Linked DNA regions of Homo sapiens: all the other regions are linked to region 1. Evidence: promoter capture Hi-C in 16 types of primary human blood cells and fetal thymus (Javierre and others, 2016). All regions are on one chromosome and are shown on one strand. Each heading gives the region's core, a stretch centred on a gene start or on the middle of the fragment in contact. The rest is flanking DNA. Distances are from core to core; before and after follow the strand shown.

Region 1 (2,799 bases), core at 177-2,676:
GTTCTGAAAATGTTACCACTTTGGTCAGACAAGTGTTTAGTCTTACTGTATAGTTCTGTTTATCAGAAACCCAGAGTAGCCTTTTCTACTGAGACTGGCACAGGTATATATTCCGAAGGAACTGTCCCATGTGTTTTTGATAAACCAAAGTGACGAATGAGAGGGTGGTTGAGTGTTAACATGCAACATAAAAGGATGGTTGTCATTATTCACTTTTTAACAAAAACTAGTGGCATGGTACAAACCCAAATCCAGAAAAAAACAGAATCACTCCATTGCAAAGTAACCAGGTAGAGACTTCCATGTTTGTTCATCCTACAACACGACTGTCATCTTTTAACCTCATGAAAACTACCCGAGTTCTTCAGCAAACTGTGCCGCTGCCGCATACAGACATCACTGTGGATCACTAAAAATCAGAATGCATCAAGAATTGCTTCCAAGCCTTAACTAGCACTAGCTCAGCTACAAACTCGGAGGTAAACAAGCACAGACTGACTGACTGTGGAGCGGGGCACTGTTTACTTACATGGGAAGACACTCATGTTGTGATGGGAAACGTGTTGCACTGTCCACCCCTAGCTCCTAGAAAAACGGTACTTTGACAAGCTAATGTGAGTGTAAGTCTATTCCCAAAAGTTTTTACCTCTCTTCTTAATCGCTTAAGGACAAATGCTCAAAAAAGGACGCCCGACACAAGGTGCCCGAGGTGCTACCCATGGCATTACCTGGAAGGACATCACTATGCCCATGAAACTGTCCCCTCACAGTGGACTAAAAGGAAGCAATAGATACCGTCATTCACCCTGGCGAAGGAAAAAGAAATCAAAACCAGACGCGCTTCCACCTGGCCCCAAGAGGCTTGGAGCAAGACTAGGGTCTAAGCTGCGGTTCAAAAACCACACCAGGCCCCTCCGCCTCTGCTCTCAAACGCAGCGCGGCGACACAGCAGAACCATCAACACCTCCACCTCTGTCCTCCAGGCACAGCCAGGGACTGCGTCCCAGAGCCCGCCCCGGTCGGGCCCGCCCCGCTATCTCCTCCCCCGTTATCCGCTCGCAGCCGCGCTCAGGCCTGGATTCGCCTCCCCACCCTCCCCAACTTCGGCACGTCCCACTACCCCACACACGTCGGCCGCCGCCCTCGGCGAGTCCGGGGAAGAAAGGCTGGAGGGCCGCAGGGCAAGGAATCCACTCAGCACGGTTCCTCACCTCTGGGTGGAGAAGGGGCACACAGCCCGCTTCGGTATCGTACTCATCCGGGCCGTCCGCCATCTTGGTGTTAAATCCCTCCTCCCGCTGCATGCTGGGAGAAAGCGTTTCACCCTCCCGGGGCTCGGGCGAGGCGGAGGGCGAGCGCGGGGCGAGCGCGAGCCCCGCCGGAGGCGACGCGGGCCTCCTCCTCCTTCTTCTCCTGCCCCCGTGACGCCCCCTCTGTCCCCTCCCCCCTCGGAGGGCGCGGGTTTCTCCGCGCGTGCGCGGAAGCGCGGCCCGGCCCCAGACTGGATCGCGCTCTGCTGCACTGCGCTGGGGACGGCGGAGGGCTCTGGGCGTGGGCCCCGCGGCTCGGGGGCGGGTCCCGGCTGGAGGTAGATGTGAAGCTCTGGCTGCCCGGGGGAGGCGGCCGGGCGGTTGAGACAGTCGCTTGGGAAACCTAGCAGCTGCTCAGGAGCGAGAACAGAGCTCCGGAGCCGCACGCAGCACAAGTCTGGAGCCCCAGGCAGCCGAGGAGCCCACGCCCACGCGCTCCCACTTCCGCTCCGGGACCCCCGGGACCCCTCTTCAGGAACTCGGGCAGAGTCGTCAGCCAGCTCCAGGGAGGTTTGGGCCCGTCAGGCTTGAGTCGAGACCTGCATCATTCCTGAAGACAAAAGCAGCTTCCCTTTCCTCCACACTTGAAAAGGTCACCCGCAACCTGTCCCTCCGGGGGACGCCCGGAAAAACATGGATACAACTCGGGACTTCCTACTAGAGAACCCTTTTTTTTTTTTTTTTTTTTTTTTTTTTTTTTTTAATGAGACAGAGTTTTGCTCTTGCCGCCCAGGCGGGAGTGCAATGGCGCGATCTCAGCTCACTGCAACCTCTGCCTCCCGGTTCAAGCGATTCTCCTGCCTCAGCCTCCCGAGTAGCTGGAATTACAGGTGCACGCCACCACGCCCGGCTAATTTTTGTATTTTTAGTAGAGACGGGTTTTCACCATGTTGGCCAGGCTAGTCTCGAACTCCTGACCTTAAGCGATCCGCCCGCCTCGGCCTCCCAAAGTGCTGGGATTACAGGCTTGAGTCACCACACCCTGCCGAGAACTCTTTTTAAAATGATCCCAACCTGCTCTCAATCGTCTTGAATTAGTACCACACAAAAAATTTACGAGCTCAAAGCCCACACACCGCCATCTGCAACATTTCGATATAATCCAGGAATTCAGAACTGAAGCCACTTAAACTGAATTCGCTTAAATGCAAGGCAGATAAAATGACTAAAGCCATTTTTTAAAGGATTTTAGGGCGGTATGGGGGAGGTGCTCCCTGTAAATGGGCTGATGGGACAGTTTTAGATAGCATTTGTCTTTCCTTTTAGCTGTTAAAAATTGTAAGTCTAAACAGCTGAGAATTTAGCAGAGATCATGAAAGTTGACCTATTAGAGATCCTGGTACTTACTAATCTGTCTCCTGTTAGGCCAGAAACCACCAGGAAAAAGCCTGTACTCCGATAACGTCAGGCCAATTTGTAAATCAGGAGGGAGGGCACTCCAAAGGAAGCTTGGAATGCCACTGGAAAAGGAAAGAGGAAGCCTCCTTTG
Region 2 (2,799 bases), core at 86-2,585, about 14 Mb after region 1:
TTTTTAGAGAATTAAAATGGCATTTTAAGAGAAAAAGCAAATAGTAACCAAATGTTAAATATTTCACCTCAAGAACTATTTGGAGAATTAAATTTCCATGTATTATTTACTGGGATCTCTTTAATAATACCCTTCTGCTCTGACATCTTTCCCATACATAATATAAAACCATCCTTTAACCCTATTTTACAGCTGGAAAAAAAAACCCGAAGCTCAAAGAGGTTAAGATTTATTGCTGGAACTAAATTCAGGTGTATTCGCTCTGACTGCAAGCCCAACTTCCCACTACAGTACTGCTCATAACAAGGTTTAACATGATTATGTGGATCTTCAATATTCTTCATAAATTAGGTGGCTCTGGATAGTTTATTAACACGTCAAAGGATTGATACAGAGTTAAGCTGAATGATATATACCAGAAGGAAAATTGTTTCCAATTCAGTGATATGCCATAAACGTGAGGAGTACAGGTTTCAACAAGATGGGTGGATACTCGTTTCGGGGAGCAACAAACAAGTTTTTCAATTTTGGTTTGGCCAGTTTCAAGTAAGAAAAAGGCCAGAATAGGCTAGTGCACAGTACACCTAGCTGGATTAACTGAATAGGCTCACTTCATGAACTTCACTCCTAAACTGGGAGGACAGGAGAGGGGAGAAAATCAAAGTGCCTCAGCCCTCTCCAGTGGAAACTATAAAAAGCCCTTGTGGAACAACCCACCGACTCACAAATCTGGAAAGGTGAGGCCTGAATGAAAATTAGGACTGGAAACTGGGGTGAAGCACTGAGTCTAACAGGACCAGGCATGCTCACAGTGCCTTCTCCTGACGTCACCTGAAGCTTACCTCTTTGACAGGTGGGAATTTCTTCTTGCACTCCAGTGACAAGGCGCGCAAGTCGCTCTGCATATTCTCCAGCAGCTTCTTCACCGCCTCGGGGCTGCTGGTGCCGGACATGATCCTCCAAGGTCCCAGCCAATTTCCGAGAGGTACAAACAAGCTCTGGCACGGTCAGCTCCTTAGGGCCACAGGCAGCTCCCTCCCGGTGTCTCTGGTCCTTCAGCAGCCCGCTTCTTGGGCCCTGGGCTGCGAACCCGGAGCCTGCTCGAGCGTCCCCCAGCAGCTTCCCCGCAACACCTCTGGCTTTTCTCGGAGGCGCCCCCCGCAGTCGCACCGTCCCGCTAGGCTCCGCCGACTCTGGCCGAGAAACCCACAAGGCGGGCAGGTCCCTCCGCTGCCGCGGGGCCCAGCCACACCGGGTGTCACCAGCCAACCTGGCAAGAAGCTTCAGCGCCAGCTCCCCAGGCCCCTAAGACTCGCCGACGCCATTAGCCGAGTCGCCCACAATTCCGAGCGCTGCCGGGACACGTCAGCCGCACTTCCGGGTACCGTGGCCTCCGCCACCGCCGCGGCCAACCCCGGCGGCAGGCCGTCGGCGGGGCGGGGCTGGGGCTTGGCCATGCTCGGGGCAGGCGGGATTCCGGGTGGGCAGCGATTCCCACAGCCCCACCCCCGGAATCAAGTAGGCTAGACAGGGTTTAAGGCGTCAAGATTCGCTTCGTTTTCATTAACAAGTGCCTGAACAGAGCCCCCGAGTACTCCTTGGCATATCTCTTTGCGTATGTTTGTGTTAAATTGTATTTCGGTGTAAATAATTTGTTTCCCTGTAGATTAATCTTAACGTGTCTCCTCCCGCTTCATTTCGAATCTCTGGACTAGTGGCCCCAAATCAGTGGCTACCTCCTGTTAATATACATTTTTTTTCTTTAAACGCAACTGGTGCACTTACTGTGGGGTAGCCTCTTATTTTCCTAATCTCTAAAATGAGACTACCCTCTGCTCCACGCATTCCGCTGGCCTCCCATCTCACTCAAAGTAAAAGCCAAAATTCCTCCAATCACCTACCAGGCGCTACGAGATCTGTCCCGGCCCCTTTACTGGCAGATGCTCCCAGCTAAAAGGAGAGTTTCGCGAGTTGGGCTGCCGGTTCTTCCTCTTTTTAAATCTTATTTTGTTTCCTGTGTATCTCCAGCACCTAGAACAGTGTCTGGCATATAGCAGGTAATCAGTACATACTTGTTGAATGAATACCCTTCTATTATAAAATCAGAGTTTCGAGGCTCAAATAAGGCACAGATACATAAAAGCCTTCATCAGGTCTGAAGTGCCAAATAAATATGAGGCAAAAGCCAAACAGAAAAATCTTCATCTGTATTTCCCCAAGATCCAGGTTGGTCTACTTTTTCCCCAAGACATTTTGCAGCTGCTGGTCAGAAAGCAGAAAATGAGGGAGGAAAAACCAGAAACAGTAGAGATGAAGAAACCAACACCTTCAGACAGCTGAGCTTATGACATGATGGAAGACAGTGAGCCATGAGATTGTCAGTGGATAGCGCTGTTTGGCTGTAACAGAGCTACTTTGTAAGCTAAATAATTTTATTTTATTTTTCCTTCTGATAAGAAGCAAAGCAAGGATGGATAAAGGGGACAGATGAGGTAATAGTAGAGAGCTCCTAGGGCAGTAATTTTGATCATTTGTGCCTATTACACAACTTCTGGGAAACTTGACACCTCCTATGGTATAAGCTTTATGTATGAAAACTGGTGAATTTAGCAAAAAAGTTCAAATGGAATATATGGCAGACATTATTCTTGAGGTCTCAGGGAGCTTGTAAAAACGAGGCGCTTTTTTTGGGTGGGGGGTGGAGACGGAGTCTCACTCTGTCACTCAGGCTGGAGTGCAGTGGCGCGATCTCCACTCACTGCAACCTCCACCTCCCAGGGTCAAGCAATTCTCCTGTCT
Region 3 (2,799 bases), core at 120-2,619, about 14 Mb after region 1:
AATGAAGTAAAACAGGTACACACTAAATTTGGCATTTAACTGCTGAAAGAAGTGTTAGAATTTTTTAGGGTGAAAAAGTTATCTGTATCAATTATCTTACACAATTCCACTCCTTCCTTCAAGAAAAGGAATCCAATGGCTTAGCTCTTTCCCAACCTTTAAAATGCATCGCGGTCCACCCCACTCCCCTCAATTCCTTCTAGGAAAATGTGAAACTAACGGTTTCCGTGGTGGCCGCGCCGGCCGGGCGCCGAGGCTTCGCGGGCTGTCCCCAGGCAGCGCCCCGGAAAACAAAGGGGATTCCCAGCCATTGTCCTCCGCGGCGCTGAGCATCACCAGCACTAGCAAGGCAGTAGCTTGCGCAGTTATCTCCACAGCGGGCAATGTCACAACCCGACCAACAGCACAAACTACTACCTCAGCCAGGGCCATGGTGTCGGGGAGGCACGGGACCACGCGGAGGGCAGCAAAGCGGCTCCGGCGCTCCTCCGTCCTTCCTCGCCGCCGACGTCGGCCCGCCGCCCCTTCTTTTCCTTTGCCTTCCCCCCGCGCCGCGCCCGGAGACCCCGCCCAGCACCCAGCGGCTCGGCTACTCCCGGCGCGCCCCGAGAGCTACGGGGATGAGAGGCGGCGCCGGCGCCCGGGTGATACAGCCGGCGTTCTGTACGTCAGCCACCGCTCTGAAGAGAGAAAAGCGGCGGTGTCCTGCGGAGAGAGCCGCTCCCTCCACTGCCCGAGGGGAGCGCGTCGCCTCAGCCGCTCGAAAGCAGGAAATGGGCGGCAAAAGCGCAGTCAGACACCAACTGGTTCTGGACTGCCCCCGAGAGGCAGCGAGCAGCGCTCCCGCGCTTCGCCCGCTAGGAGCTGCCGCCACGTCCCGAGCTGCGCCGCTCGCGCCCCTCCCTGCTCCGAGTCCCCGGTGGGGGCTGGGCTGCGGCCGAGTCCGGTACCCGGGCCCCCACCCGCGCCGCGCTGTCGAACCCGCCGCCGGCCCGCTCTCGGCGCCGATAATCGCCGGCGGGCATCCCGCAGAGGCTGCCGCCGGCTCCGCCAAACAGCAGCCAAGGCATAGCCGGGAAGTCCCCAGGCCACCCGTTCCCCAGCACCCTTCGGGGAATTCCCGTTCAGCTCTACAGGAGGCGAAAACGGAACAAACGAAAACCCCTTAACAGTGAAACCGGGCCCGGCGATGGCCCGGGTGGCGACTGCGACGACTCGACGCGTGCGGACACAAGACCCGTCTCGCGCTCCGCTGCTCCTGTGCGTCCGGACGAACCTTAGAGATCACTTAAGGAGGCTCGCGCGCTACTCCTCACCACGTGACCGCCCCGCCAGGCCGCCCCCCGCGCCGCCATCTTACATCCGGGACAGAGGCGGCGTCCCCTTTCCCTGCCTTGGCAGGCGTCAGCGTGCTACCAGAAATCAGCCCTGAAAGAGGGGACCCCGATTCCACGTCACCAGAGTGCTGAGGCAGCGGGCGATGCCCTCCATCGGCTCAGCGGGGGGGAGTGGAGTCCCAAACTTTTTTCGGCCTTTGCCCGCAAAGAAGATGGCGGCGCATATCGCCGCCTAAGCGGACACGTTGTACCCTGGCCGTGGTTTGAAGTTTCCGGCACCTCCTTTCCCAACCAGCAAGGACACAACCATACGAGCCCCACCCACGCGGGGTGGCTGCCGTGCTACATTCCGCAGAAAACAGGCGGGAAAGCTGCGGCACAGCCCGCTTTAAACGCAAGCTTTTGGGACTTCTGGTTTTGGCTTTTTCTTTTTAAGCCAAGTTAGGGAGAAGGCTGACTGCCATGGAGCCACTTCTGCTTTTGGCCCAGACAACTTACGGGATTTTTTTTTTCCTCCCATTTAGAGATTTTTTGTAGGAAGTTAACAAATTATTTTAAAGAAGTAGTTAGGGCTTGTCAGATAAAATACAGGACGCCCAGTTAAATTGGAATTTCAGATAACCAGTGTTTTGGCATATGTGTGTTACATATATTTTTAAAATTGTTTATCTGATATTCCAATTTAACTGCACATTCTCAATTTTTAATGACTGTATCTGGCAACCCTATCAGCCTTTACCCCTGAAAATCCAGACTGCTTATGACAAAAGTAAGGAATGGAGGGAAATGAAAAGCATGTTTACCTACAACTTAGAATTGTCTTTGCCCAGACTTTGATCCTTCATGGAGGCCAGAGGGCCGTGGTCTAGAACAAAATTTGGCAGCAACTCATAAAGATATCCTTGTATAATTCCCTTTCTGGCAAAGTAAGATTTTTTTTTTCTTAAGCTATCACGATGTAATTTTGGACAACAGATCCTCTTGGCCAAGAGTTTAATTGCAAATTAAAAATTAAATAACTGGCTTTTTGTTTCTATTCTACATGGTATAGGCGATGGGACCCAAACAATTTCTTAAAGTAGAAGTTTTCAAGTTAAAAATCAGCCTGCCTGACATATTTCATAAGAACATTTTTAGGTGCATATTCAGAAACTATTTCCAATTAAGAATATTTGTGTAAACATAATACATTTGCAGTTAAATGCTTTACCTGACAAAGCATAAACTCACCTATCAATCACTAAGCATAAACTCAAAGCAAAAACTCAATCACACCATAAACTCATCTATCAATCACTTACCAGAAAGTCTGTAGAAACTTCACACCATCCTTCCTTGATAAGCAAAGATTGGACTGCCATGGGAATCAACCCTCACTGCTCATTGACTGCGCAGTGGATCAGATTATTCTGTACCAAAGCAAATGTCCTTTGCCATAATGGCACAGATTTTTAAATGGCCA
Region 4 (2,799 bases), core at 157-2,656, about 11 Mb after region 1:
CGAGATAGAGCCACCGCACTCCAGCCTGGGTGACAGACTGAGACTCTATCTCAAAACAAACCAACAAAAACAAATTAAAATGATATGCTTGTAAAATGTTTGTAAAATCATAAAAGATAAAGTGTTTTTTTGTTTTGTTTTGTTTTTCTTGTCATTGTGGAAGTGACGTTAGTTCTTTTGGCAAAGGCTTCTGAGAACATCAAGTTTAAGGATTTAGTTTAGAATAGACTGTTCCACAACTGTTCTGAATTCCACTTGCTAAGTGTTCGGGTGTTGTGGTTAAGGTGAGGACTGGGCAATGTGGGTAGATCAGAGTAAACTCATCAAAACAATTCCAAGGGACCCTAGGATGACACTACTCTGGGTATGTCTACACCTCTTTATATTGGAATGACAACAATATCATGAATATTCACTCTAATCCATTGTATTTGCCACCATCATCTCTCTCTTACAGTAATACAACTTTATCCCCTTTTCTCTGCCTTTGGTAATGGCCCTCTTCAATGTATTCTACTTCTGGCCTAGGATGATCTGGCCTTTGTTTATCTATCCAGCCTCATTCTTTGCCACCTGTCCCCTACACCAGCTGAGCTTCACCGTCTCCCTCTTTGCAGACGTTGGTCCCTTGAGGCCCAGCCTACATCACTGCTCTTTCTCTGGTTGGCTCCTACTTGCCTTTCAGGATTAAATATTACTTCATTCAGAAAGCCTGGTTTATAGAAAGTGCTCAATAAATGTAGGTATTATTATTATTTTAAAATAATAGAAGTAAAAATGCATCCTCGGTGTGATTATTGAAAAAGTGGATGAATGAGATGGGTATTTGTTGAGTGGATGGGTGACTGGGACATGGGTTCTATCACTTTAGCAACTCTCCAAGGTGAAAGGACTTAAAGTGTGTTCAGGCTGGGCGCGGTGGCTCACGCCTGTAATCTCAGCACTTTGGGAGGCCGAGGCGGGCGGATCACGAGGTCAGCAGATCGAGACCATCCTGGCTAACATGGTGAAACCTCGTCTCTGCTAAAAATATAAAAAAATTAGCCTGGCGTGGTGGCAGGCGCCTGTAATCTCAGCTATTCGGGAGGCTGAGGCAGGAGAACCGCTTGAACCCGGGAGGCGGAGGTTGCGGTGAGCCGAGATCGTGCCATTGCACTCCAGCCTGGGCAACAAGAGTGAAACTCCATCTCAAAAAAAAAAAAAAAAGTGTGTTGAGAAAAGTTTCACTTCAGATGACGCCGGGAATGTAAACCGTTTTCTCTTCCATTCTAACTCGGAGCCATCCCCGCTTTCTCCGCCCAGCTGGAATTTTTGAAGCGAGAAAATCGACTCGCTCGGTGTTCGCCCGCCGACGCCGCACGGCTTGCTGGGGCTGGGCTCTTCCTCGCGGAAGTGGGGAGGAGGCGGTTGCGGTTAGTGGACCGGGACCGGTAGGGGTGCTGTTGCCATCATGGCTGACCCCGACCCCCGGTACCCTCGCTCCTCGATCGAGGACGACTTCAACTATGGCAGCAGCGTGGCCTCCGCCACCGTGCACATCCGAATGGGTACGTTGTCCCCTCTCCAGTGCCTCCCAGCCGCTTGTCTGCACTGCTCGGCCTCTAGAAGCCGACTTCCGGCTTCCGAGGGAGAGCGGCCATCTCCTGGGACTCACAGGGAGTGCTCACTGAGCTCCCGGCCCTCCTTCTCCGGGTACCAGAGGACTGGCGCCCTCCTCAGGGAGTCGGGGAGGCGCTTCCTCCCCTCCTAGCGGGTGTGGGAGGGCGCCAGGCCCAGAAGGCTTGCGGCTGTCCTGTGTGCGCCCCGGCTCCCCAGCGGGCGCCGCGGTGTAGGAAGGGACAGATGGAAACCGCCGCAGCCTGAATTTGGCATCTTGAAGTGAAAAGAAACGTCGTGGAAATGAGTCGGTTGATCACTGTGACTGACGTACACACGAGTGGAATCCACGGCCTGATGTTTTTGTTCTGTGGGGTTTCGCGTTACAGGCTTATATTTACCGTCCTGTGCTAGGCTGGAAGCTCCCTGACGGCACTATTTCCTCTCCGCAGGGCCCAGAATGCAACAGGTCTTTGAGGATTATTGAGGAAGTTGCTCAACACAGAAGCTTCCTAAGTCAGTCTAAATTGTGTTTTAAGTTATTACGTAGTAGCCAATGGGCAGAAATTTTTGAATTTAAAATGCTCAGCTTCATCTACGTGGAAGCCATTGCCTGCTCTAGTTTGGTCATTTGATCGCCGAAACAGCCCCAGACTTTCAGCCTGTTTAGGCAGCTGGAACTTGTTCTGGAAAAGGAAAGATGAAGATAGTTCTGATGTGCTAAGAATCTTAGTGCCTAGAACTTGTTCTGGAAAAGGAAAGATGAAGATAGTTCTGATGCACCAAGAATCTTGGTGCCTAGCATTTATATTTTTGGAATTGAATTTTGAAATTATTTTGGCCAGTGAACTCAGCTTTTTTTTAAAAAAAATTAATTGTGGTAAAATACAGGTAACATAAAATTTACCGTCTTAACTATTTTTAAGTGTATAGTTCAGTAGTGTTAAGTTATTCACATGGTTGTGCACTGTTAAAAGAAAAACTTTAGACACATTAAATCTAACGGAGTTTGAGCACAGAATGATTTGCGAATTGGGCAGGTCCCGGAACCAGAATAAGGTTCAGAGTGATGAGTCCTGCCGCTTGGTGGGAGAAAATTTATGGAGAGAGAAAGTAAAGTGAGGTACAGAAAATAGAAGTGAGGTACAGAAAGAGTTGATTGGTTACAGCTTGGTTTTTGCCCGTTTGAACATGGTTTGAACA

Evidence for each region. The method cuts DNA at HindIII sites, captures the fragments that hold promoters and counts their contacts. A CHiCAGO score of 5 or more calls a contact.
Region 2: the fragment with the promoter of MON2 here is called in contact with the fragment with the promoter of ZDHHC17 in region 1 in 1 of 17 cell types (naive CD8 T cells); the score reaches 8.0 in naive CD8 T cells.
Region 3: a contact is called between the fragment with the promoter of MIRLET7IHG here and the fragment with the promoter of ZDHHC17 in region 1, in 1 of 17 cell types (non-activated CD4 T cells). The highest score is 10.6, in non-activated CD4 T cells.
Region 4: the fragment with the promoter of TMBIM4 here is called in contact with the fragment with the promoter of ZDHHC17 in region 1 in 1 of 17 cell types (naive CD8 T cells); the score reaches 6.5 in naive CD8 T cells.

The regions. Positions count from the first base shown.
Region 1 is chr12:76,762,742-76,765,540 of GRCh38, reverse strand. ZDHHC17 (zDHHC palmitoyltransferase 17) reads right to left here and starts at 1,426. Exons shown (of 17, transcript NM_015336.4): 1 at 1,212-1,426. The coding sequence starts at 1,304. RefSeq lists enhancers at 1,079-1,228, 420-1,262, 1,238-1,532, 1,829-1,928 and a silencer at 1,279-1,688. The HindIII fragment of the contact is 3,524 bases long and covers 1-2,760 here.
Region 2 is chr12:62,465,362-62,468,160 of GRCh38, reverse strand. MON2 (MON2 regulator of endosome-to-Golgi trafficking) reads right to left here and starts at 1,335. Exons shown (of 35, transcript NM_015026.3): 1 at 843-1,335. The coding sequence starts at 953. RefSeq lists enhancers at 679-1,178, 1,174-1,283 and a silencer at 1,314-1,633. The HindIII fragment of the contact is 1,301 bases long and covers 1,284-2,584 here.
Region 3 is chr12:62,601,313-62,604,111 of GRCh38, reverse strand. MIRLET7IHG (MIRLET7I host gene) reads right to left here and starts at 1,369. Exons shown (of 2, transcript NR_186001.1): 1 at 1,277-1,369. LINC01465 (long intergenic non-protein coding RNA 1465) reads left to right here and starts at 678. Exons shown (of 1, transcript NR_121682.1): 1 at 678-2,361. MIRLET7I (microRNA let-7i) reads right to left here and starts at 426; the gene lies at 343-426. RefSeq lists enhancers at 1-507, 508-1,029, 1,136-1,325, 1,406-1,515, 1,030-1,551 and 1 more and silencers at 356-655, 746-1,055. The HindIII fragment of the contact is 3,704 bases long and covers 1-1,738 here.
Region 4 is chr12:66,168,603-66,171,401 of GRCh38, reverse strand. TMBIM4 (transmembrane BAX inhibitor motif containing 4) reads left to right here and starts at 1,406. Exons shown (of 7, transcript NM_016056.4): 1 at 1,406-1,547. The coding sequence starts at 1,451. RefSeq lists enhancers at 1,425-1,504, 1,148-1,672, 2,155-2,254. The HindIII fragment of the contact is 2,376 bases long and covers 1-2,106 here.